Linked DNA regions of Homo sapiens: all the other regions are linked to region 5. Evidence: promoter capture Hi-C in human tissues and cell types (Jung and others, 2019). All regions are on one chromosome and are shown on one strand. Each heading gives the region's core, a stretch centred on a gene start or on the middle of the fragment in contact. The rest is flanking DNA. Distances are from core to core; before and after follow the strand shown.

Region 1 (4,327 bases), core at 698-3,197, 210 kb before region 5:
GGGTCCTGGTTCACCCTGGGTCCTGGTCCTGTAGCCCCTCACTGCTGGGCTCCTGGTGTTCTACGGAAGGTCTCCTTCTGCGATGTCTCCAGGCTGCTGTGGCCACCTGTCCCAGATGCCCCACCTCTGACCTGCTGCTGGGAGGCAGGGCAGTCAGTTCCTGGCAACAGACCTTGCTCTGCTGCCCTGGCCCCTCAGCTGCCTCACGCGTGACATGGCCATTGGCTGGAGCTCTCCGAGGCAGGGCCACTGAAGCCCCCGAGCCCTGAGAGGCTGACCCTGCACTCACTCTAAGGGGAAATGGAACTCGGCCCTCTAGCAGGCCTCCACAGCCTTGACCCTTTCACACCACCATCTGTGTGAGGCCTCAAAAGATTGTGCACTTTCCTTGAAAAAAAAAAAAAAAAAAGAAAAATCTTAGTATCACTCCCATCGCATAAAATTAAGCATATTGAAGTGTATAATTCCATGACATTGAGGATAATACGTTCACAATTGCTGTACTATTGCCTCTGTTTAGTCCCAAAATATTTTTATTACCCCTGAAGGAGACCCCAGAGCCATTATTAGCAGTCACTCCTCATTCCTAACGCTCCAGCACTGGCAACCGCAATCTACTTTCTGTCTCTAAATTTGTCTTTTCTGAACATTTTACATCAAAGCTACAATATGTGGTCCTTTGTGTCTGGCTGCTTTCACGTAACCACAGTTTTTTTTTTTTTTTTTTTTTGAGGCAAAGTCTTACTCTGTCACCCAGGCTGTAGTGCAGTGCGCGATCTTGGCTCACTGCAACCTCTGCCTCCTGGATTCAAGCAATTCTCACGTCTCAGCCTCTTGAGTAGCTAAAATTACAGGCGCCCACCACCATGCCCGACTAATTTTTGTATTTTTAGTAGAGACAGGGTTTCACCATGTTGGCCAGGCTGGTCTGAAACTCCTGAGCTCAGGTGATCCACCGAGGTAGGTGATCCACCTACCTCGGCCTCCCAAAGTGCTGCGATTACAGGCATGAGCCACTGCGCCTGGCCATAACATCAGATTTTCAAGGATTATCCACGTTGTAATGTGTCAGTGGTTCATTCCTTTTTTTTAAATTGCCAAATATTATTCCATTGTGTGGATATACCATATCTTGTCTATCCATTCTTCAGATGGGCTTTTATCTTTTTTCCACTTTAGGCTATCGTGAACAGTGCTGCTTGAACATCCAGTACTAGTGTGTGTTTGAATACAGGTTTTCAGCTTTGTGGTGTATCTAGGCGTGGGACTGCTGGTCCTATGGTAACTCTGTTTAACTTTTTGAGGACTGATTTCCCCCATGGCTGAACCATTTCACCAGCAGTGCGGGAGGAGAGAACTACCTCCTCTCCAACACTCGCTATTTAAAAAACTTTAGCCCTCTTAGGCCGGGCATGGTGGCTCATGTCTGTAATCCCAGCACTTTGGGAGGTCAAGGTGTGAGGATCGCTTGAGCCCAGGAGTTCGAGACCAGCCTGGGCAACATCGCGAGGCCCCATCTCTACAAAAAATAAAAATAGCCTGGTGTGGTGGGGTACGCCGGTGGTCCCAGCTACTTACGAGGCTGAGGTGGGAGGATGGCTTGAGCCTGGGAGGTCGAGGCTGCAGTGAGCTGAGCCGTGATTGCATCACTGCACTCCAGACTGGGTGATAGAGCAAGATCCTGTCTCAAAAACAAAACAAAAACGTTAGCTATCCTAGTGGGTGAGCCGTACATTTATTTTTGATTTTCAATTTTGAATTGTTGCATGTGGTCCGGCAAGCACTGCACAATAGAATAACTGCCTGCCACATGTGGCCATTCAAACTGAAAATGAGAATAAATTCAATAAAATGAACTCGACTTCCTCTACTGCACAAGTCAGCCGTGGCTTCCGGCTCCATGCTGGCGGCACAGATGGATCGTTGCCCGCCTCACCGAGTGCTGCTGGAGGCTGCTGGTGGTGCCTCCTCAGGGCACGGCTGCTCCTGCGTTTGCTGCTTGGTGGTGGCCTCCTAACAGCCTGGCCCAGAAGGTGGTCCATGCAGCCCAAACTTGGGTTCCAGAGATGGGGAGTCGGGGGCAAGGAGCACATGGGGAAGAGAGAGTGGATGCTCAGCCACAATGGGGGCCCGGTGGTGGCTCAGCCTTTCTGTGGAGGTGTCAAAGCTGGACATGGAAAATTGGGCAGGGATGTCGCTAGCAGAGGCACCGCTGTGGATGGCAGGACCAGCCTGGTCAGGACCTCTGGGAGCCAAGGAGAGTTCAGTGCCCAAAGTCAGCATAAAAAACAGAAGCTGGTGCCCCGGGGGCAGTTGGACAGCCCATGGACATCCCCGGGAGCACCAGCTTGTTGAAATAGCATGATGTATATTTTTAAAAGAGTCTCACTTTATATGCAAAATGTCAAGCAATATAAATCTCTTATTTAAAAAAATTGAGAATACCAGGGGCGGTGGCTCATGCCTGTAATCCCAGCATTTTGGGAGGCCGAGGTGGGTGGATTACCTAAGGTCAGGAGTTCGAGACCAGCCTGGCCAACGTGGTGAAACCCCGTCTCTACTAAAAATATAAAAATTAACTGGGTGTGGTGGCCTATGCCTGTAATCCCAGCTACTCGGGAGGCTGAGGCAGGAGAATTGCTTGAACCTGGGAGGTGGAGGCTGCAGTGAGCCGAGATTGCGCCATTGCACTCCAGCCTGGGCAACAAGAGTGAAACTCCATCAAAAACAGAAACTTTCCAACCAGGCAGGTGGGCAGATTGGAGTGTAGGCTGTTTCTGGAGGGTATGGCCACGAGGTGGCGCCACTTCGGTAGCTCTCAAACGGCGCCGCTCCGCATTTGCTTCTGTGGTTTTCTGGGGGATTTTGTTTCACCGTTTTAATAACAAGATCTCACTTTCCTGCCCAGGCTGGAGTGCAGTGGTGCAATCACGGCTCACTGCAGTCTCGCCCTCTGAGGCTCAAGCGATCCTCCTGCCTCGGCTCCCTGAGTAGCTGGGACTACGGGTGTGCCATACCACGCCCGGCCAAGCTTTTCATTTTTTGTAGAGATGGAGTCTCACTATGTTGCCCAGGCTGACACATCGGCTCCGGTTTGCTCCTGCGGACCCCCCAGTACCTGCACCTGAGAGGCCACCATTGCTGTCCACCCTTGGTGTGCCTCAGCCTACAAAAAACTGTTGCTATGTCAAAAATGCCACTACCTCGGATGGCACTGAAAAAGACACACCTGGTTGATGTGTGCAGGAAGTACAGGGGTGTGAAGGCTGGAAACAGGGTCTAGTCCTTCATGTCTAAAGGCCCGTGTGTCTTGGGCATCAGGAGCCCTGGCTGCAGGTGACAGGCACCTACTCTAAGAAGCCGAGGTGAAGAGCTGGGGCTACTCGTGTCATTGGCATCCACAGCTGGGGGTACCCTGGCTGTAGATGCGTTAGTTTGTGGAGCTGCTTCTCCTGGGACATTGGCCTTGGATCTCAGAGCAATGTCTTGGTGAGGGGCCCTACCTTGTGCACTGTCACCAGCCAGGCCTGCTGCCCTCAGGCAGAAAGCCTTCTATTTTTGTTCCAGCTTAAAGAATAAGAGGTGACCAGCCGGGTGCAGTGGCTAACCCCTACAATTCTAGCACTGTGGGAGGCCGAGGCAGGCAGATCACCTGAGGTCAGGAGTTCGAGACCAACTCAAGCGGACGTTGGCGGGCGAAGTCACGGTTTTCCAGGCTGGAAAACCAGCAGGCCGTGCAGGGGAGAGAACTGGTACCATGGACATGCGGGAGCTGAATCTGCAGGAAGGTGGACCCCAGGGAGGATGCGTGGGGTGGAGAGAGTAGGGAGAAGTCGAGAAACTCCAGGGCAGAAGCCAGAAGGGCCCAGGGAAGACCACCAGGGACAGCGAGCGAGCCAGGGCCAGGAATGGGCGCCGGGGTGCCCAAGAGAGAGGTCTGATGAGAGCACGATCACCAAGCGCCAAATGCTGCCTGCGAGGACCCAAAGCGCACCTCGGATGTAGTGAGCAGGCCCCCGGGACCAGGTTTCGGTGGGTTTGAGAAGGAACGAGCTGAAGAAGTGGGGTGACAGGTTCAGACGTCTTGGAGTGAACGGGAACCGGCTGAAGAGGCGCACGTGGGGTGGAGGGAGTCTGTTTAGCCAGGCTGTGGAGCTGGCGCCTGATGGCTGCCGGGAAGGACCTGGTGCCAGGGAAGAGCGAGGCAGGGGCAGCTGGCAGAGGGAGGCCCGAGGGGAGGCGGACCCGAGGCTCTAGGCCAGGACCAGCAGGCCGGGGAGTCAGGGGAGAGTTGCCTGGGGCCCAGGAGGCTGCACTGCAGAGGCCT
Region 2 (4,302 bases), core at 1,473-3,972, 210 kb after region 5:
GGTAGATATCCATCTCTTTCCTCCTTTCTCTGTTCTTCCCTTACAGTTTGCAGCCAAATTCTTGAGAATGTTGACATTGGCCAGACTGGCCTTTGGAGAATAACCATGTGCTTGCTGGAAACACTGTCTTCTCTTGCCGTTGTTTTCCTCTCTCCAGTGTTATATCAAGTGAGGAACAGAGTGGAGGGAAGGTGGATAGTGGGCTACCTGGCCTGTTTGCACACTTGTATTTGCCAGGTGGAGAGAATTCAGTTAGGGCTGCAGCTTCTAATGTTGTTGATTCTGGAAACAGAAAATACTGGTTCATTTCTCCTAAACGCCATGATTGTTAGCAGGAAGTGAGGGCTCTGCCTTCACTGTTGAGCCCGTCAGCTCTCTGCTGTTGAGTAAGCGGGCAGCCGAGGGGTTGTTCCTTTTCCCAGCAGCTTCTTTAAGTACAGATATTTTCAGCAACAAGGAAGCCTTTCAGTCTCCTCATCTCCCTGCAGCAGATGAAACTGCCGTTGTGATCTCTGTGTGTGACAGTCGCTCATAATGGAAGCCGAGCAGCAGTGGCGGGCCTCCCGAGCTCCAGCCTGATGATGCTGTGAAAGGCAGTGGAACGCAACCCTTGAGTTCACTTTATAGGCAGGAAGAGGAGGAAGATTGTTGACCCATAGCTTTGAGCACTTCTTTTCTTCTGTCATTAAGAATCTACTTTATCTCCTCTACTTATGTCAGATTTCCCATTTAGAAAACCTGCCTAGACTCCAACACCAAACATCATCACATACGAATATTTAGGAACTTAGGAGAGTTAAGTTTTCCTTTTTTGTGTACTGATATTCCCACCTCAATTTTAGGAATTAAAATTCACTTGTATTTATAATACATAAATACACAAAAATGGATGTTGTAACGCTAGTATCACCAGGCTAAGTTCCTAGCCAGGTCACACTGTGTGTTAAAGCTTGTTCAGATGCATTCTCATGGTGAAACTGAAGGTGGCCTTAGGTCTATGTCGTTCTGAAAGGCATCATCCATCAGGGTGGCTCATCCCAGACAAGCCTCCCAATCTGGAAACAAAAAGGCAAGGATTGGCTTTGGAGGCGGCGGTCCTCACTCAGACCTGTGCCTCCTGCTAGTCCTGTGTCGTGGCCCCTCCCCAGGATCTGAATGTGCTCCTCCTTCTCCCAGCCAGGCGGTGTCCCATGGCATCTTCTTCCTGTGACCAGCAGGCTTCCTCTCCCCAGAGGAGTCAGTACCTCCTATACATTCATGCCTTCTGCAGCCTATGTGGTTGTTTAGTTGAATTATCACAAAAATATGTGTTACTGATGCATTTAGCATAAGTGGGTCCCGTAGAAGGTTGCGGAGTGGTCAGTCCTGGATTGGGTACAGAGATGAGTGTGCACTCATTCTCTCATGCAGGCTGTGCCAGACAAGCACCTGTTGGATACTAAACAAGACTGCAGGCCTCTTGTGTGCACGTTTGTAGGTTAGGTTTTAGTGGTCCAATTTCCATTCTTTTACTGAGAGAAAATAGGCAATTCTTGATTTTTCCTCCAGCACAGTCCAGAAGCGTGAGCTGGTGAATCCCGCCAGTATGAAGCAGGCCCTGATCGCGTCAGCCCGGAGGCTCCCCGGGGTCAACATGTTTGAGCAAGGCCACGGCAAGCTCGATCTGCTCAGAGCCTATCAGATCCTCAACAGCTACAAGCCACAGGCAAGGTCAGTGCACCGCCCTGCCGATGGGTCTTTCTCTCCTTCACTGGGCTCTGGGCGAATTTTCCCTCTGCACAAAATACAAGCCTCAAAACAGAAAATGATGACTAAGCACAGAATTCTCGGGGTGCTTGGAGAGGTTTTGCTGCTGCTTCTACAGGGTGCTGCTGGCAGAACTGGTAGCTGCTTTCGCTTACTGATGTGATCTTTAATATAAATGGTTAAAAGTAATGATTTCTGAGTGGTTTTTTTGCTTTTGTTGTTTACTTTCTTAGACTCTTGAAATAATCTTAGGTTTACAGAAATTTTGCAGAAATAGGAGAGAGTTGTCCTACAAGGTTGCCCAGTTTCCCCTGATGCCACCATTTCAGATGAGTGGAGTACAGCTGTTAAAACTGTCATACAAACACTGACACTGTGCTGTAATTCACCTGCAGACCACATACATCTCGCCAGCTCCTGTGGTACTCCCGTCCGGCCTGGGCCCTGCTTTGTTTTCACCCTTATTTTGAAATGATTTTAGATTTACAGCAAAGTTTCACAAATAGTTCATGAGAACCCCTGAGTCCTTCACCCAGCTTTCCCTCACCTTAGTATCTTCCATAACCTCAGTATGAGCGTCAGAGTCTGGAAATGAACCTTGATGTAGCACTGCTGACTGACCTGCAGGCTTCACGCAGATTCCGCCCATTGTCCCACAGGTCCATTCTCTGGGATCCAGTCCAGGATCCCACATTGGATTTCATTGTCCTGTCTTCTTGGTTTCCTCTAATCACAGACGGTTCCTCCGTTTTCCTTCATCTTGTTATTGGGGGTATTCATTTTCATCATTTGATTAATGTGGTCTGTCAGTCTGGGTCCTCCAAGAAGCAGACGTCAAGCTAGGATTACATGTTCAAAAGATATGTGGGGAGTGAGGGCCTCTGAAGGATAAAGGGAAGGGTGTGGGAATAGGCAGGAACTGCAGTGCTGATCTGACACCGAAAAGTTAGGAGGACTGGGGAGGAAGAGGCTCGCACAGGCCTGAAAAAGTTTTGGCTGATGGGAAATCCTTGAACCAGATTGCCTGTTGGAGGAGTCCTGTGTCCCCCCAGAATGGGCCTGCCCTGGTGCCTCCTGTGTGCTTAGTCATTGGCTGGGAGCAGCCCCAGGGGAAGCGTGGCCTTGGCACAGACGTGTGAGGACCTGAGGGTGGCAGCTGCGGGTGTCAGCCAGCAGTGTCCTGCAGAGGAGACCTGAGCTGCTGGCCCTGTGGGGCCAGAGGTGGCTCCTGCCAGGTGTCTCCACTGTGCAGCCCGTGTTTCCTTTGTGACTTCTCAGTGTCTTGTGGGGGCATGTTTCGAGATGGCCTTGTTTCGTCACATACTTCCACTCACTCATGTTAGCATGCCTTGATGGTTCTTGCCTTTGGTGATTACTCCTGACAACTTTGACACGTGATGATTTTCTTTTTCCTTCATTCCATTTACATTGATTAATTGGAACTCTCCTGGAAGGAAGAGCTGTCCTTTCTGTCCCATTTATTTATTCAGTTCTTTACATCAGTGTGGACACATAGATATTTATTTTACTCTGTGGATTATAATTAATATCATTTAGTGGGTCGTTCAAATTGTCCCCGAGTTGGCTGTTGGGAGCTCCATCTAGTTGGCTTATGTGTGTTTTCAGCATGTGTCCAGCCTTTTCTGAGCACTTTCTGTCTTCCTGGCAGCACAGGATGTCCTGTCATGCACCTCTGTGCTCTAGCCTTGGTATCAGTTCTGTCTCCAAGCAGCTCTTTGCTGATGGCCTCTTCTAAAGAAATCAAGACCTGGGCACTCGGGGTGCTCCAAGCTGCTGTGCTCACAGTGGTTACTGCGCTCTTCGGACAGAGCTAGGCAACGTGTGGACACGTGCACAGACACATACGACTGCTTCTGTATCTGCCTATCTGTGTATGTACTGGAAACATGAGTTCATGCCACCTCCAGGTTCCAGCCAGTATCTCAGTGTTCATTCCAGCCTTTCCCTATCCTTGTTTCTATTTATTTATTTATTTCTTATTTACAGAGATGGTCATGTTACCTCTGTTTCTAACTCCATTCTCCAACAGTGAGAAGCCTGGCTCTCATTATCCACAATATGTTGGCTTATTTGCTTAGTTGTAGTGTATACGTACTGAGCAGCTTTGGAACTGCTAGCCCATGTCCTTGTGAGTTTTTTGAATATAGTATTTGTGACAGTGCGTCATTATCTTTGGCCCTACAGAATACAGTTATAGTGTTTTTTTCAGTTACTTAGGTTAATTCTTTCCTTGGTGTCTTTTTAATACAGTTGGACTCATTTATTCGTGTTTGTATTCCTTTTTAGATTTCCCCCACATCCTCGTTGATTATAACTTGTTATTGGGTGTGTGAAACATGACTGTGGTTCTAAGGATGTGTTCGTTTGTTCTTGCACTGCTATAAAAAAATACCTGAGACTGGGTAATTTATAAAGAAAAGAGGTTCAGTTGGCTCCTGGTTCTGCAGGCTGTACAGGAAGCATAGCACCAGCACCTGCTTCTGGGGAGGCCTCAGGGAGCTTCCAATCATGGCAGAAGGTGAAGGGGAGCCAGCA
Region 3 (4,198 bases), core at 512-3,011, 160 kb after region 5:
GTTCTGCCGCTTTGCAAAAGCATTTGGCAGTGGAATGCATGTGGACCAGCAGTTAAACCATGGGCAAATCCCTTTGCGAACTCTTGCACAGGTGTGCAGGAGATGGGGACAAGCGCTCCCTGCAGCACTGTTCCTAACTGTAAATCAAAACCAGCAGAAACAGTGCACGTGCCTAGCACCAGCAGCAGGGGGACCTGTGAATCGTGGTGTATCTGAACCAGCAGCAGGGGGACCTGTGAATCGTGGTGTATCTGAACCAGCAGCAGGGGGACCTGTGAATCGTGGTGTATCTGAACCAGCAGCAGGGGGACCTGTGAACTGCAGTGCATCTGAACCGTGAGATACTGTGCAGCTGCCGAGGAGGATGGACTATATAGCTGCAGGGGCATGGATGAGTCTCGGGAATGATGTTGAGTGAAAGAAACAAGTCACCAAAGGGTCCATGTGGTGTGGTTCCTTTATGTGAGGTTCAAAACCAGGCGAAACTTAGCAATACTGTTTTTTTTTTTGTTTGAGACGGAGTCTCGTTCTGTCGCCCAGGCGGGAGTGCTGTGGCGCGATCTCCGCTCACTGCAAGCTCCGCCTTCCGGGTTCACGCCATTCTCCTGCCTCAGCCTCCCGAGTAGCTGGGACTACAGGCGCCCACCACTGCGCCCGGCTAATTTTTTGTATTTTTAGTAGAGACGGGGTTTCACCGTGGTCTCGATCTCCTGACCTCGTGATCCGCCCGCCTCGGCCTCCCAAAGTGCTGGGATTACAGGCGTGAGCCACCGCGCCCGGCCAGCAATACTGTTACTGTTTCAGAATACATGCTTGGGGTATACAGCTGTTTTGTTAAAAGAGTCAGGGAGTGACTACCCCAGAATTTAGGAGAGAGGCTGCCTCCAGGATAGAGGAGGGGCTGTAATCAGAGGAACAGCATACAGGACTTCCACGACACTGGTTTTGTTAAGTAGGCTGGTGGCTAAGTGGCTGTTTTATTATTCTTTGAACTGTGCATAATAGGTTTTACATACTTTTGTATATATTTAAACATTTTTGCCAGGTGCAGTGGCTCACGCCTGTAATCCCAGCACTTTGGGAGGCCGAGGTGGGTGGATCACTTGAGGTCAGGAGTTCAAGACCAGCCTGACCACCATGATGAAACCCCATCTCTACTAAAAATACAAAAATTAGCTGGGCATGGTGGAGGGCACCTGTAGTCCCAGCTACTCGGGAGGCTGAGGCAGGAGAAACGCTTGAACCCAGGAGGCGGAGGTTGCAGTGAGCAGAAATTGCACCATTGCACTCCAGCCTGGAAGACAGAACAAGACTCGGCCTAAAAACAAAAATTTCTTTTAGTTACAGAAAAATTCGTTTTCTATACATCTCCTGCCCTCCAGAGGCCTGTGCTCTCCTTGGACAACCAAGAAACCAAGATATAAGCAAGTTGAGTGTTTAAATAGAATCCAAAGCAGTGTGTGCTAAGTGCCACATGGGTAAGAGAGGTGGAGAGGAATTCAGAGGTGGGGGCAGTGCCACGGCCTGGGAAGGGAAGGGACAGGAAGGGAAGTTTCTCCCCAGGGCTGACATGTTGTTGGTGCTTGTTAGGAAGTGATTGAACGGAGGAGAAGACATGGGACTTGAAACGTCAGGAAGAACAGAGGATTTGGAGTACTGAGCACAAGACAGATTCACACTCTGAAAAAATTAAGATTTATTTGGAAAAATGTTTTCATCAATGAAAACAGCCATCGCCCTGGAGCCTTACTGAAAAGCTGGATAATCCCAGCTGGTGAGGAGGAGGACCTCAGGTCTACCCTGGTCAGTCAAAGATGGCAGGAACCTCTGAGACTTTCTGGCTCCTGAATACACATAGTGGTTTTGGCTTAAGGGAGGTTGCAGAGTTTTCAGCTTGTCTCTTCGCTGTCCTGAAAGCTGAACTGACTGTTCATCCATCCCTTCCTCCCACTGTTTATCCTTATCCCCTGTGGCTGATGTAACAAATTGCCACAAAGGTAGTGGCTTAAAATGACACAGATGTCTCTTCCTTCTGGAGATGGGAATCTGAAGTCATTGTGACTGCGCTAAAGTCAAGGTGTCAGCAGGGCTGTGTTCCTCTGGAGGCTCCAGGGGAGAATCCTTTTCCTTGCCTCTGCCAGCTTCTAGAGGCCACCCCCCGTCCTTCACTGGTGACCCACCCCTCTCTCTATTATCGAAACCAGCAGCACAGAGCACCCTCAACTCGAGCTCTCTCTGACCTCTCCCTTTGTAGTCACATGGCTCTCTCTCTTTGATCTTCCTGCCCCCCTTACAAGGACACATGATGACATTGGACCCACCCTCCCCAGCTCGGAGTCTTTAACTCAGTCACATCTACGGAGTCCCTTTGGCCACATAAGGTGACGTATTTACAGGGTCTGGGGATTAGGCTGTAGATATCCCTGGAGGCCATTACTGTGCCCACCACACTGTCGTTCGCTAATGCTTTGATTGTCTTTTTTTCCATCCTGCTTGCTTTGTCTTCTTTAAAACCCTGGCCAGTCTGCCTTGTGTTCTTTCACCACCCGCCCCACGTCACACGCATTTGGATAGCTTGGTAATGTCCATGTTTCAGCCAAGACTTTCCTCCCAGAACTCTTGGTACATGAAGGTTTTTCTATTTGAGTTGATTGCCCTTTACACTGCTAGGTGGAGTCCCCTTCACTGTGGAGTGGGATCATGTTACAGGCCACAGCAGTGGTGCTTTGAAGAGGTGACTTTGCTACTTGCAGTTTTGACCATAATTGTCCCGTGACGCTTTTGTAGTTGTAACGTTTCCTGTAGGTTTTTGATGACTCCTGCCCTGTAGAAGTAGAAAATGCTTAAAAGATAATAGGGACTTGCTCTTCTTTTCCTAGTTTGGGGACAGTTGTGGTTTTGTTTTGTTCACAGATGTTTTAGTTTTCTGCAGAGATGAGAAAACAAAGCTTAAAAATTTTTTTAAATTATTTTATATTTTTCCAACTTCATCGAAGTATAATTGACAAATAAAATTATATAAATTTAAGGTGTACAACATGATTTGATATATGTATACTTTGTGAAATGATCACCACAACCAAATTAGTTAACACATTCATCACCTCAGTTACTTTTTTATTTCTTTATGGTGAGAACACTTGAGATCTACCCTCTAAGCAGATTTTAAGCCTACAATTTGGTATTGCTCACTATGGTCACTGTACTGTACATTAGCTCTCCAGACGTATGCATTTTATATTTGAAAGTTTATACCCCTTTGACCAAAACTTCCCACCCATGACCCCACCTCTAGCAACCACCATTCTACTCTCTGTTTAAGAAAATAAAGCTTTAGAATAAGTTCTTGCAGGTAGATTGTACATGAATCAGAATTTTACTGTGTTTTAGTATTGCTTTCCACATCATGGGTTTCTCTAGGTTGCAGGCTGCCTTAGTTGGTTTTGAGCTGCTATAACAAAATACCATGAACTGGGTGGCTTGGAAACAGCAAACACTTACTTTTCGCAGTTTGGGAGGCTGAATGGTCCAAGATCAAGGTGGTGGAGCCCTCATTATCTGATCGCCTCCCAAAGGCCCTCCCTTCTAAACCATCACCTGGGGGGTTAAGATTCAAGACAAGAATCAGGGAGTGGGGCGGAACGCTCAGACCGTAGCACAGGTTAATAGCTTTCGCTAATCAAGCCACAAAACAGTAACTAGTCAGATACCTAAAGTAACTTTGACGAGGCTTGTTATCTACATATGCCTAAGTGGACTTCTAGGCTTAAATGTGTGATAAATTCCTTTGAAAGTTTCAGTGAGAGGCTATGAGCTTTTGAAATTTGGTGGCTCTGGGGAAAGTACTGATTTCTTTTGTCATGAGAAAAATGTTATTTTCCATCATGTACAGAAGGGTGGGGAAGAAGATTGAGAGCAGGGAATGAGTTTTAATTTCCAGTTCTCTAACATCTTTGGCCCATCAGGGTGTGAGTGAATGTGTGAAGTGTCTGGCAAGGCTGAGGAGCAGCAGAGGCCACAGAGCCTTGGCTCTCCGTGTGGCCCTCCTTCATCCCCAGCTGAGTAACCAGGGCTCAGGAGCCCCCCTCCTCCCCTGCTGCGTTACCTTCCTAAACAAGCCCCACCAGCTCCCTCCCTTGGTGCTCAAGGAGGAGGTCCATGCACTCCAGTCTGGCGTGAAGGCATCTCCAGTCTGCCT
Region 4 (4,188 bases), core at 335-2,834, 250 kb after region 5:
CCCCAGGAGCTGGAAGAGGCAGGAAGGATCCGCCCTCCATGGCCTCCAGAGGGAGCATGTCCCCATTGATACCTTGACCAACTTCTGACCTTCAAGACCATGACAGAATAACTTTCTATTGTTCTAAGCCCCTGAGTCTGTGTTGGCAGCCTCAGGAGCGTAATACAGGGGAACAATCAAACGACGTTTCCTTTCCTCTCTTTTCTGGCATTTGTGTATTCATTCATTCATTCATTCATTCTCTCACACACTCATTCAGGCACTGTCAGAGTCCTTGTGGGGCAGGAGGCCGTGTGACATTACAGCCTCTGAAAGGAGCCTGACTCAGGGTGAATCCCAGCCTTGTTGCTTGCCAGCTGTGATGCTCTGAGCCACGTGCTCCACCTGCCTGAGCCGAGTTCCTGCTTGGTGCGGGGTGGGAGTTGGGGGGAACAGTGGGGACACCCGCTCAGGAATCCGCGTGAACTCATCCAGGCTAGGTTCTCAGCAGCACATTTATGCAGCAGTGGCGTGAATGTCATCCGGGTCATTGTCCAGCCTTGAGCTCCGGGACTGCAATCCCGGCTCCCTTTCACTTGCCCCTGCTGAGAAGCCAGCCACTGACTCTGCTGGTTGGGCATTTATGGAGCAGCCATTGTGTGAGCCACAGAGTTTGGAACCTGCCTGCTCATCAGGAGGTAACAGGAGTCGGGGGTTGAGACCATTAGAAACCACATCAAAAAGAAGCCTTTGGGGCTGATCTGGTGTCGGACAGATAAGGACTGATTAGATGCAGCGGGGGGAGGGGTTCTGGGCATTGAGGATATTTAACTGAAAGCAGTGCTTCTCAGCGAGGGGCCGAACCAGCGGCATTGGAGTCACCTGGGAACCCGTTAGAAAGGCAGGTGCCCAGACCCCGCCCCGGAGACACTCAGTCAGAAACAGGGGCTGGGGCCTGGTGTTCTGTGTTTGAACAAGCCTTCCAGTGGATTCTGATGCAAACTGGAGTTCGAGAATGCGGGTGAGAGGGAGCCTGGGTTCCAGGAATAAACAGTCAAATTCCGGATCTGAGCTGCATGTGCCAGCATTTTCCGGAATGGGGCCGTCTCCGATATTCTGTCCCCTTAGCTGACCCCGTATCAGTTTGGAGAGATGTGTCATCACTCAAGCGTGGCCTAGGGACCAGCAGCCGCCGCCTCCCCCAAGCGTTCAACAAGCCCCGTCTCAGGTGACTCGTGTGCATGGGATTAGCTCTGAGACGCACCTGCTGGAGTTGGGTGGAGGAGGTAAAGGAAACCACCTAGGAGGCAGCACCTGCGGACGGTGGAGCCTGTTCTGCAGAGGAGGAGGCTGGGCTCAGGGCACTTTTCACGCCCCCTCCGTTGGGCTGGGGACCTTGGAGAGGTATGTGAGGATGGAGGCGCTGCAGAAGCTGCCATGAGATCATGGTGCCTGCTCCCCTGCCCCGTGTGGCTCCCAGCTGAGCTCCCTGTCACCCTCCAGGGCAGCTGAGAAAGCTCCACCCCCGGGGCCGGGCCTGCAGGGGGCTGGGGAGAGGCGGGAGTCTTAAGCCTTCCTTGCTCAGGTCAGAAGTCTCAAAAGCTGCAAATTCTTGGGACCCATGGCCCTGACCACTTGTTGCTGTCCTCTTAGGTGTGGAGGGGCCTGACCCTGACACATACTCGCTAGGGCTCCTTTAGTTAATGACTCACTCACCCCTGGCCAAGCTCGAATCTTGCTTCTCCCACCCCTCTGGCCCCAAGAAATGCAACTGAGCCACCTGGAGTAAGCCCGAGTCCCATCCCCAACAGCCAAAGACTGTCCGGCACCTTAAAAGTTGGATTTGGTGGTAAGGACCAGGAACTGGGGGTCTGTTTGTACAGAAGTTTGGCTGGAAGCAAAGGGAGTGGATGGGAATGGGGGGAGAGAGGATTGATGGGGATGAGGAAGGTTGGGGGTTTGGGAGAAGAGAGGGAGGGGGAAGGGGTGAGGTTGCCTTGGGGTCTAGTGGGAGGGCAGGAGTGAGAATAATGTGGGTAGGGAATGGGAGACGAAGGGGGACTAGAAGTCGTGGGCAGATGCATGCAGCACCCTTTGGAAAGGGGGAGCTGACGCCAAGGAAGCGGGCAGGAGCGGCTCAGGGAGCTCTCACTGAGTTGGGGAGACAAATAAGGATATCGAGAACTTAGGGAGGAAAGCGTGAAGACTGTGCTTTCTCTCCACCCCTCTGCCGCCTCTAGCCATGGAGGGACAGACCCCAGGAAGCAGGGGCCTTCCAGAAAAGCCTCACCCTGCCACGGCTGCTGCCACTCTGTCCTCGATGGGCGCTGTCTTCATCCTCATGAAGTCCGCGCTGGGAGCTGGCCTGCTCAACTTCCCCTGGGCCTTCTCCAAAGCGGGCGGAGTGGTCCCTGCCTTCCTGGTGGAGCTGGTAAGTCCCCGGGAAGTGAGTCCTGGGGACGGGTACGAGGTGGCTTTGGCTTTTCTGGGTGGGGTTCCTCGCATTGCTTCTGCGGAGTTGCGTGTCCTGTAAGCTATAGCTTCGGGGTTTTATTTTCTATCCCGCTCAGCTAATGAGGGGAGAAGATAATCCCACTGTAGCCCTGGGATGAGAATATCCCCCGTGGGCGCTGGTGGCATCTGATACACAGCTTCCGGGATGGAGCTACAGGCATCGCAGCTCTGTCTGTGAAGTGGGCATTTCACCTGGGAAGGAACCTCTCTGGGCGCCCTGCCTGGCCAGCTGCTCTTTCTTGCCTGCTGGTCTTAGCTCAAAAACTAAAGCTGGGCCGGGCACGGTGGCTCGTGCCTATAATCGCAGCCCTTTGGGAGGCCAAGGTGGACGGATCACCTGAGGTCAGGAGTTTGAGACCAGCCTGGCCCATATGGTGAAACCCTGTCTCTACTGGAAATACAAAAATTAGCGGGGCGTGGTGGCGGGCGCCTGTAATCCAAGTTACTCAGGAGGTGGAGTCAGGAGAATCGCTTGAACCTGGGAGGCGGAGGTTGCAGTGAGCTGAGACTGTGCGCTCCAGCCTGGGCGACGGAGTGAGACTCTGTCTTAAACACACAAAAACAAAGCTCGACTCCTGTGTGCAGATTGAGCCTAAAACTGGTGTGACACTCCCACACTCCCCACACAGAGCCGGGCCGGCCTTGCCTGGTGTCGGATGTTCCGCTCTCCTGCCTGCCGGGTGCAAAGCCAGAATTCCCTTTTGGGGAAGCGCGGACGCCGCGCTCTTCTCTTTGCTGCGGGAGAGCCACTGATGAGCACAGCTTTATTTTCTAAGATCCTTTGCCGCTGGCTGATGGAATGAATTGCTGCATTTTGTGGTAAGCTCTTTGGCCGGCTTTTTCTCACACGTCTTACGGCAGCTGGTGGATAATGGCTGAGTTCCAACCGTTTGTGTGCCCTGAGGCTCTTCGGGTCTGTTTGGAAACTAGTGTCGGGTGTAACCCATGACACCCCTGGCGTTGGCCGAGCTCCTGCCCCGTGCCTGGCCTAGGATGGATGACGCAGTGTGGTCCCTGTCCTCATGGAGCTTTGTTTTAATGGGAAGTCAGACAAGATGCATGTCATCAGCTTCAGATGGTGGATCATGCCGGGAGGGTCATGTGTCTCTGGGGATCGGGGGATGATATGACATGGCGTGGTCGGAAGCCTCTCGGAGGAGGTGACCTTTGCGCTGAGCCCCACTGGAAATGGTAAGAGCTTCCTGAGGTGCACGTGACGGGGCAGCACGCCTGCGTTTGGACTAGTGTGTCAGGAAGCCTGCCATTACAGCAGTGAGGGAGAAGCCCCATCTCAAGCCACAGAGGGCAGGTGGGGCTTGGGGGTAGGGTTGTGGCCAATCCCCGGGCAGCAGGAATGGCCATGAGCCAGAGAGTGGGAACCCTGTTCCACAAGCACCGTGCAGGCATTTCACACAGATCTTGCTGAAATGCAGATGCTGGCCCTGCAGGGCTGGGTGGGCCTGAGACCACATTTGTGACTTGCTTCTGGGGAAACAGCTGTTTTGTTTTGCTTAGGATGAGCTCCAGATCCCTTCACTCAGCAGACTTGAGGAGAAGGGAACCCTGAGGTGAATAAATGGAAACTCATGGCAGAGCAGAGGAGCCAGCCTGGCTCTTGACACGCTCCCGCCACCCCAAGTTGTTCCTTTTAGCCTCCAGGGCTACCGGGGAGATGGAGTTGGGGCTGGAGTGATG
Region 5 (4,223 bases), core at 1,655-4,154:
TGGTCCAAGATTGCACAGCACATTAGAGATTTCACTGTGATAAGTTCCAGGCCAGGTGCTCTTCCCAGCCCTCCCTGTCCTCTGAGCCACAGGCGAACAGCCTGTCTTCGCCCAGGGCTTTCTCTGAGGCACAGTTTTTTTTTTTTTTTTTTTTTTTTTTTTTTGAGACAGAGTTTCACTCTTGTTGCCCAGGCTGGAGTGCAATGGCACAATCTCGGCTCACTATAACCTCCACCTCCCGGGTTCAAGCAATTCTTCCACCTCAGCCTTCTGAGTAGCTGGGATTACAGGCATTTGCCGCCACACCCAGCTAATTTTGTATTTTTAGTAGAGATGGGGTTTCACCATGTTGGTCAGGCTGGTCTTGAACTCCTGACCTCAGGTGATCCACCCGCCTCGGCCTCCCAAAGTGCTGGGATTACAGGCATGAGCCACCGTGCCTGGCTGGCACAGTTGTTCTGCATAAACCTCACCTATGTCTAGGCGCTGAGGAAGGAGGCCAATATCTGTTGATAACCAGGGAAAGTTTCAATTCAGCGAGGAGCCAATTCAAAGCACTTGCATCCTGACCAGTGGTGGCTACAAGTGAATCAGCTCCTGCAGCCCACCCAGGCCTGTGTTTTAGAGACTCCCCCAAATCCCCCGCGCATATCAACCCTGACCCTCCTATGTGGATGTCACAGTGCTGGCTCCTATGACATCTTGGGACATGGTGGAGATAAAATCAGATGACATATTGGCAATCTCTCTATGGTTGTAGAACCAAAGTGCTACTAACTACAGTTGAGGGTTAAATCATCCTGTTGCACCAGAGAAGAGCATGGAGGAGTCAATAAAATCTGAGAAGAGTCTCTCACCCCTCCTCAATGCCTCCCCTCTGGCCAGGTCTGGTCTCCCAAGCAGCTCTTAGATGCACCACTTCTGCCTGTGAGCCTCGGCTCATGCTGAGCCTTCTTCCAGGAATTTCCTTCCTCCTCCTAATTCCTAATCCTTCCCCAAGATCCAGTCAAGGTCTCCACCTCCTCCAGGAAGCCTTAGGTGACTACACCATCTCACATGAGCTTTCCCTTCTCCAAGCGCCTCATCATGTCACTCTACTACTCTTTCCACTTCTCGAAGTCCTCCTGTCTCCCGCCACGAGCATGTGCCGAACATGGAGAATATGAGCCCTGGAGGCCCAGATTTGTCTCAATACAGTTTCAGGCACCCCACTATGCCTGGGGTCATTAATCATTCTCCCTTCCCTCTTCTCCAGCTGGCAAACTCCTATTTATCCTTTAAAGCCACAGGTCCACTGTCCCCAACCCTAAAAACCCTGTCTGACTCTCCTGGGGAAGAGCTGCACACGCATCCCGTGCTACCACTGCAGCCGCTCATAATTCACCCACAAGAATGTACCAGGCGTCAACTTAATGGCAGGCACCAGGGGCACACATTAGTGAAACAGAACCCTGCCCTACCCCAAGGAACCTACATGCTACCCTGTTAGGCAACACCAAACAAAGTCACAATTATTTGATTGAAAGCTGCCAAGATGCACTGCCAGCTTGCTATGTTGCAAAGACGTTCTACATACTGAGACATTCAATCCTCACACAGGTGCTGTGGGTGCCAGCATTACCTTCTTGAGCCCTCTGTGTGCTGATATCGTCCTGGCTCACTCCGTCCCTGCGGATCTGTGATCTCTGGGGGGTGGGAGGAACCAAAAATGATAGCCTCCTCCACCCCATTCTCTCTCCTAGTTCCCTTCCTGCTTTATTGCTTCCTCAGCACTTGCAATCTGCACATACTAATAAATGAGATCTCTCTCATTTATTCTTTGCTGCCCCCAGCCCCCCATTGAGTTCCCCAGGCAGAGATGTGAGGCCTGTATCCCCACAGCCTAGGACAGTACCTGGTAAACAGTGGCGACCCAGACATAGTTGTGTGAAGAAATGCATCCCTCTGTCTTTTGCAGATGAGATTGCTGGGGTTCAGAGACGTCAAGCAGCTTGCCTGAGAGAAGCCACGCAGCTAATGAGCAGCAGAGCCCGATTCACACCCAGACATCTGGCCCCAGGGCATGTGTTTCTTGCCACTCACTGCCTCATGCCTTCTCTTTGTACTGCCATCGTTTGTCACCCAACTGCCTCTGCACCTCGGCCACGCCACCCTTGAGGATGGGGGCTGGTACCTCCTTTATCTTGTATCCACAGGACCCCACAGAGTGCCTTCCCCAGAGCGGTTTCTGCTAAATTCTGTTTAACAGAGTGTATTCATTCTGTTTGCTGAATGAATAAACAACCACATGAATGCATAAGTGTATTTCACAAACATTTGGTACTGATCAGGGAGACGGAATGCTCCGTTTAAATCCTGGGGTTCCGAAATGAGATGCTGTCTTTCAGGAGCAAGCATACTTTTGTAACAAGGCAAAAGTAAGGCACGATTCTTTGGCACATTTGTGATGTGTCTTTTGCCTCTTGATTCACAGATAAGGGTCCTTTTTTGGGGGTGAGCCCCATCTGCCCACCACACAACTCAGACACACACGGATAGGAAGACGCCTGCCTTGCCACGTTTTGGGGGAGCACTTACAGGAGAAGGCAGTGTCTAGGGATCGCCTCTCCTCAAGGCTGACTCCCACCCACACAGGCTGCCCCAGCCTCCCCATCCCAGGCACTTACACGGGATTTCTCGGCCAGCCTCGCAGGCAATGCCCGTTTCCAGATATTCTTGGCAGAGCCGGCGTGGAGGAGAAGTAGCAAGAGGCACAGAGCCCGGATGATCTGCCTCCTGCAGCTGCCCGGCCCCACGCCGGTTAAAGGCATTTCCTCCCTGGGCAGCGACCTTCCAGACGCACACAGAAGAGGGGCCCCCCTCGCTGCGTGGGCCTGTGAGTGGGGACAGGAGCGTGCACAGTCTGCTGGACTTTCTTAGTTCCACCCAGCAGGGTCCCTCGGATCATGTGTCCGCGTCCAGCACATGCCCCTTCCTCGATGGTGGCTGGCCTGCCCGGTTATTTTTAGCTTGCCCTATAACATCTGGCCCCAGACGCTCCAACCAGGGCGTCTGCAGCCCAGGCAGCTCAGTGGGCGGTGGCAGCAGGAGGAGGGGGCACCGGCTTGCTTGGAGACGTGGCCGGGAGTGGCCTGTCACTCTCCACTCTCCATAATGAGCACTTCCTTGCAGGCTGGGGCGGTCTCCTCCCAAGGAGGTGTGCTTGACACAGGGCTCGGGGCTGGACATGCAGGGGAGTGCAGCCGGATGGGTGGGGGCTCGGCTGCTACCTTGTTCACATTTCGAGCTGGGCTGACAAACTATCTGCCTATAAAAGCTTCTTTGAAAGAGGCTGCTGGACTGGCACTGGCCAAGGGTGCAGCCATGAAGAGACGACTTCCACCCTTGCACCCGCCGGGGTCCTCCTGCCTGATGTGGGCATGTGGGTAGTTCCTCATAGCGTGTGTTTCCTGTGAGATTTAAAAGAAATTGAGCACATAAAGCATTTCACACACATAAGTGTGCTGTCACTGTCAGCCGGTGTATCTGCACATGTGCATTTATGTGTATGCGTGTGTGCACGTGGGTGTGCATGTGCACGTGTGTGTTTTACAGGAATGTAGCACAGCGGGCTCAACATTTCACAAACTTCATATTCCCTTGTCTGTTCTCAGCACTTCCAAGACAGATACTGGTTTTTTGTTTTGTTTTGTTTTTCGAGACGGGTCTTGCTCTGTCACCCACGCTGGAGTGCAGTGGTGTGATCACAGATCACTACAACCTCTGCCTCCCGGGTTCAAGCGATTCTCCTGTCTCGGCCTTCCAAGTAGCTGGGATAACAGGCATGTGCCACCATGCCTGGCTAATTTTTGTATTTTTAGTGGAGACTGGGTTTCACCATGCTGGCCAGGCTGGTCTCAAACTCCTGACCTTAAGTGATCTGCCCGCCTCAGCCTCCCAAAGTGCTGGTATTACAGGTGTGTGAGCCACCACACCCGGCCCCAAAACAGACACTGTTTTGATGCCCGCTTTACAGATGAGGAAACAGAGGGGGCTGCCTGAGGTCATGCAACAGCAGCAGAGAGGAGGCTGGAACCCAGGTAGGTCAGACCCTGTGGCACCCCCCTAGGCGAAGCAGAAGGGACCCAAGCACTAGGCTTGACGCACCTGCCTGATCCCAGTTCAGCCTCTGCGAGATGCTGGAAAGCCTCTTGCTCATGGTCCTCAGTTCTCTCATCTGTGAA

The links. The method cuts DNA at HindIII sites, captures the fragments that hold promoters and counts their contacts. A contact is called where the count stands out against the background at its distance.
Region 1: a contact is called between a fragment that was not itself captured here and the fragment with the promoter of WFDC1 in region 5, in 8 of the 25 tissues and cell types used here (H1 embryonic stem cells, bladder, dorsolateral prefrontal cortex and 5 more).
Region 2: a fragment that was not itself captured here is called in contact with the fragment with the promoter of WFDC1 in region 5 in 2 of the 25 tissues and cell types used here (H1 embryonic stem cells and IMR-90 fibroblasts).
Region 3: a contact is called between a fragment that was not itself captured here and the fragment with the promoter of WFDC1 in region 5, in 3 of the 25 tissues and cell types used here (IMR-90 fibroblasts, dorsolateral prefrontal cortex and mesendoderm cells).
Region 4: the fragment with the promoter of SLC38A8 here is called in contact with the fragment with the promoter of WFDC1 in region 5 in 3 of the 25 tissues and cell types used here (H1 embryonic stem cells, mesenchymal stem cells and ovary).

The regions. Positions count from the first base shown.
Region 1 is chr16:84,505,071-84,509,397 of GRCh38, reverse strand. It overlaps LOC124903736 (a long non-coding RNA gene), which reads right to left. Exons shown (of 2, transcript XR_007065149.1): 2 at 1,719-2,052. Among named protein-coding and RNA genes, the nearest start is that of MEAK7, 2.6 kb to the right of the region's middle. RefSeq lists enhancers at 591-660, 1,651-2,151, 4,279-4,327, 3,761-4,327 and silencers at 2,424-2,660, 2,644-2,763. The HindIII fragment of the contact is 9,061 bases long and covers 1-4,327 here.
Region 2 is chr16:84,079,155-84,083,456 of GRCh38, reverse strand. MBTPS1 (membrane bound transcription factor peptidase, site 1) reads left to right here. Exons shown (of 23, transcript NM_003791.4): 11 at 1,549-1,710. Among named protein-coding and RNA genes, the nearest start is that of MBTPS1, 36 kb to the left of the region's middle. The HindIII fragment of the contact is 6,670 bases long and covers 1-4,302 here.
Region 3 is chr16:84,137,406-84,141,603 of GRCh38, reverse strand. All of the region lies in intron 1 of HSDL1 (hydroxysteroid dehydrogenase like 1), which reads left to right. Among named protein-coding and RNA genes, the nearest start is that of HSDL1, 5.7 kb to the left of the region's middle. RefSeq lists an enhancer at 3,671-4,198. The HindIII fragment of the contact is 4,844 bases long and covers 1-4,183 here.
Region 4 is chr16:84,040,191-84,044,378 of GRCh38, reverse strand. SLC38A8 (solute carrier family 38 member 8) reads left to right here and starts at 1,584. Exons shown (of 11, transcript NM_001080442.3): 1 at 1,584-1,828; 2 at 2,220-2,410. The coding sequence starts at 2,222. RefSeq lists enhancers at 13-716, 717-1,421, 1,422-2,125, 2,126-2,830. The HindIII fragment of the contact is 13,701 bases long and covers 1-4,188 here.
Region 5 is chr16:84,293,559-84,297,781 of GRCh38, reverse strand. WFDC1 (WAP four-disulfide core domain 1) reads right to left here and starts at 2,904. Exons shown (of 7, transcript NM_021197.4): 1 at 2,667-2,904. The coding sequence starts at 2,810. LOC124903734 reads right to left here. Exons shown (of 6, transcript XM_047435022.1): 5 at 4,147-4,223; 6 at 2,944-3,449. The coding sequence ends at 2,944. The HindIII fragment of the contact is 18,601 bases long and covers 1-4,223 here.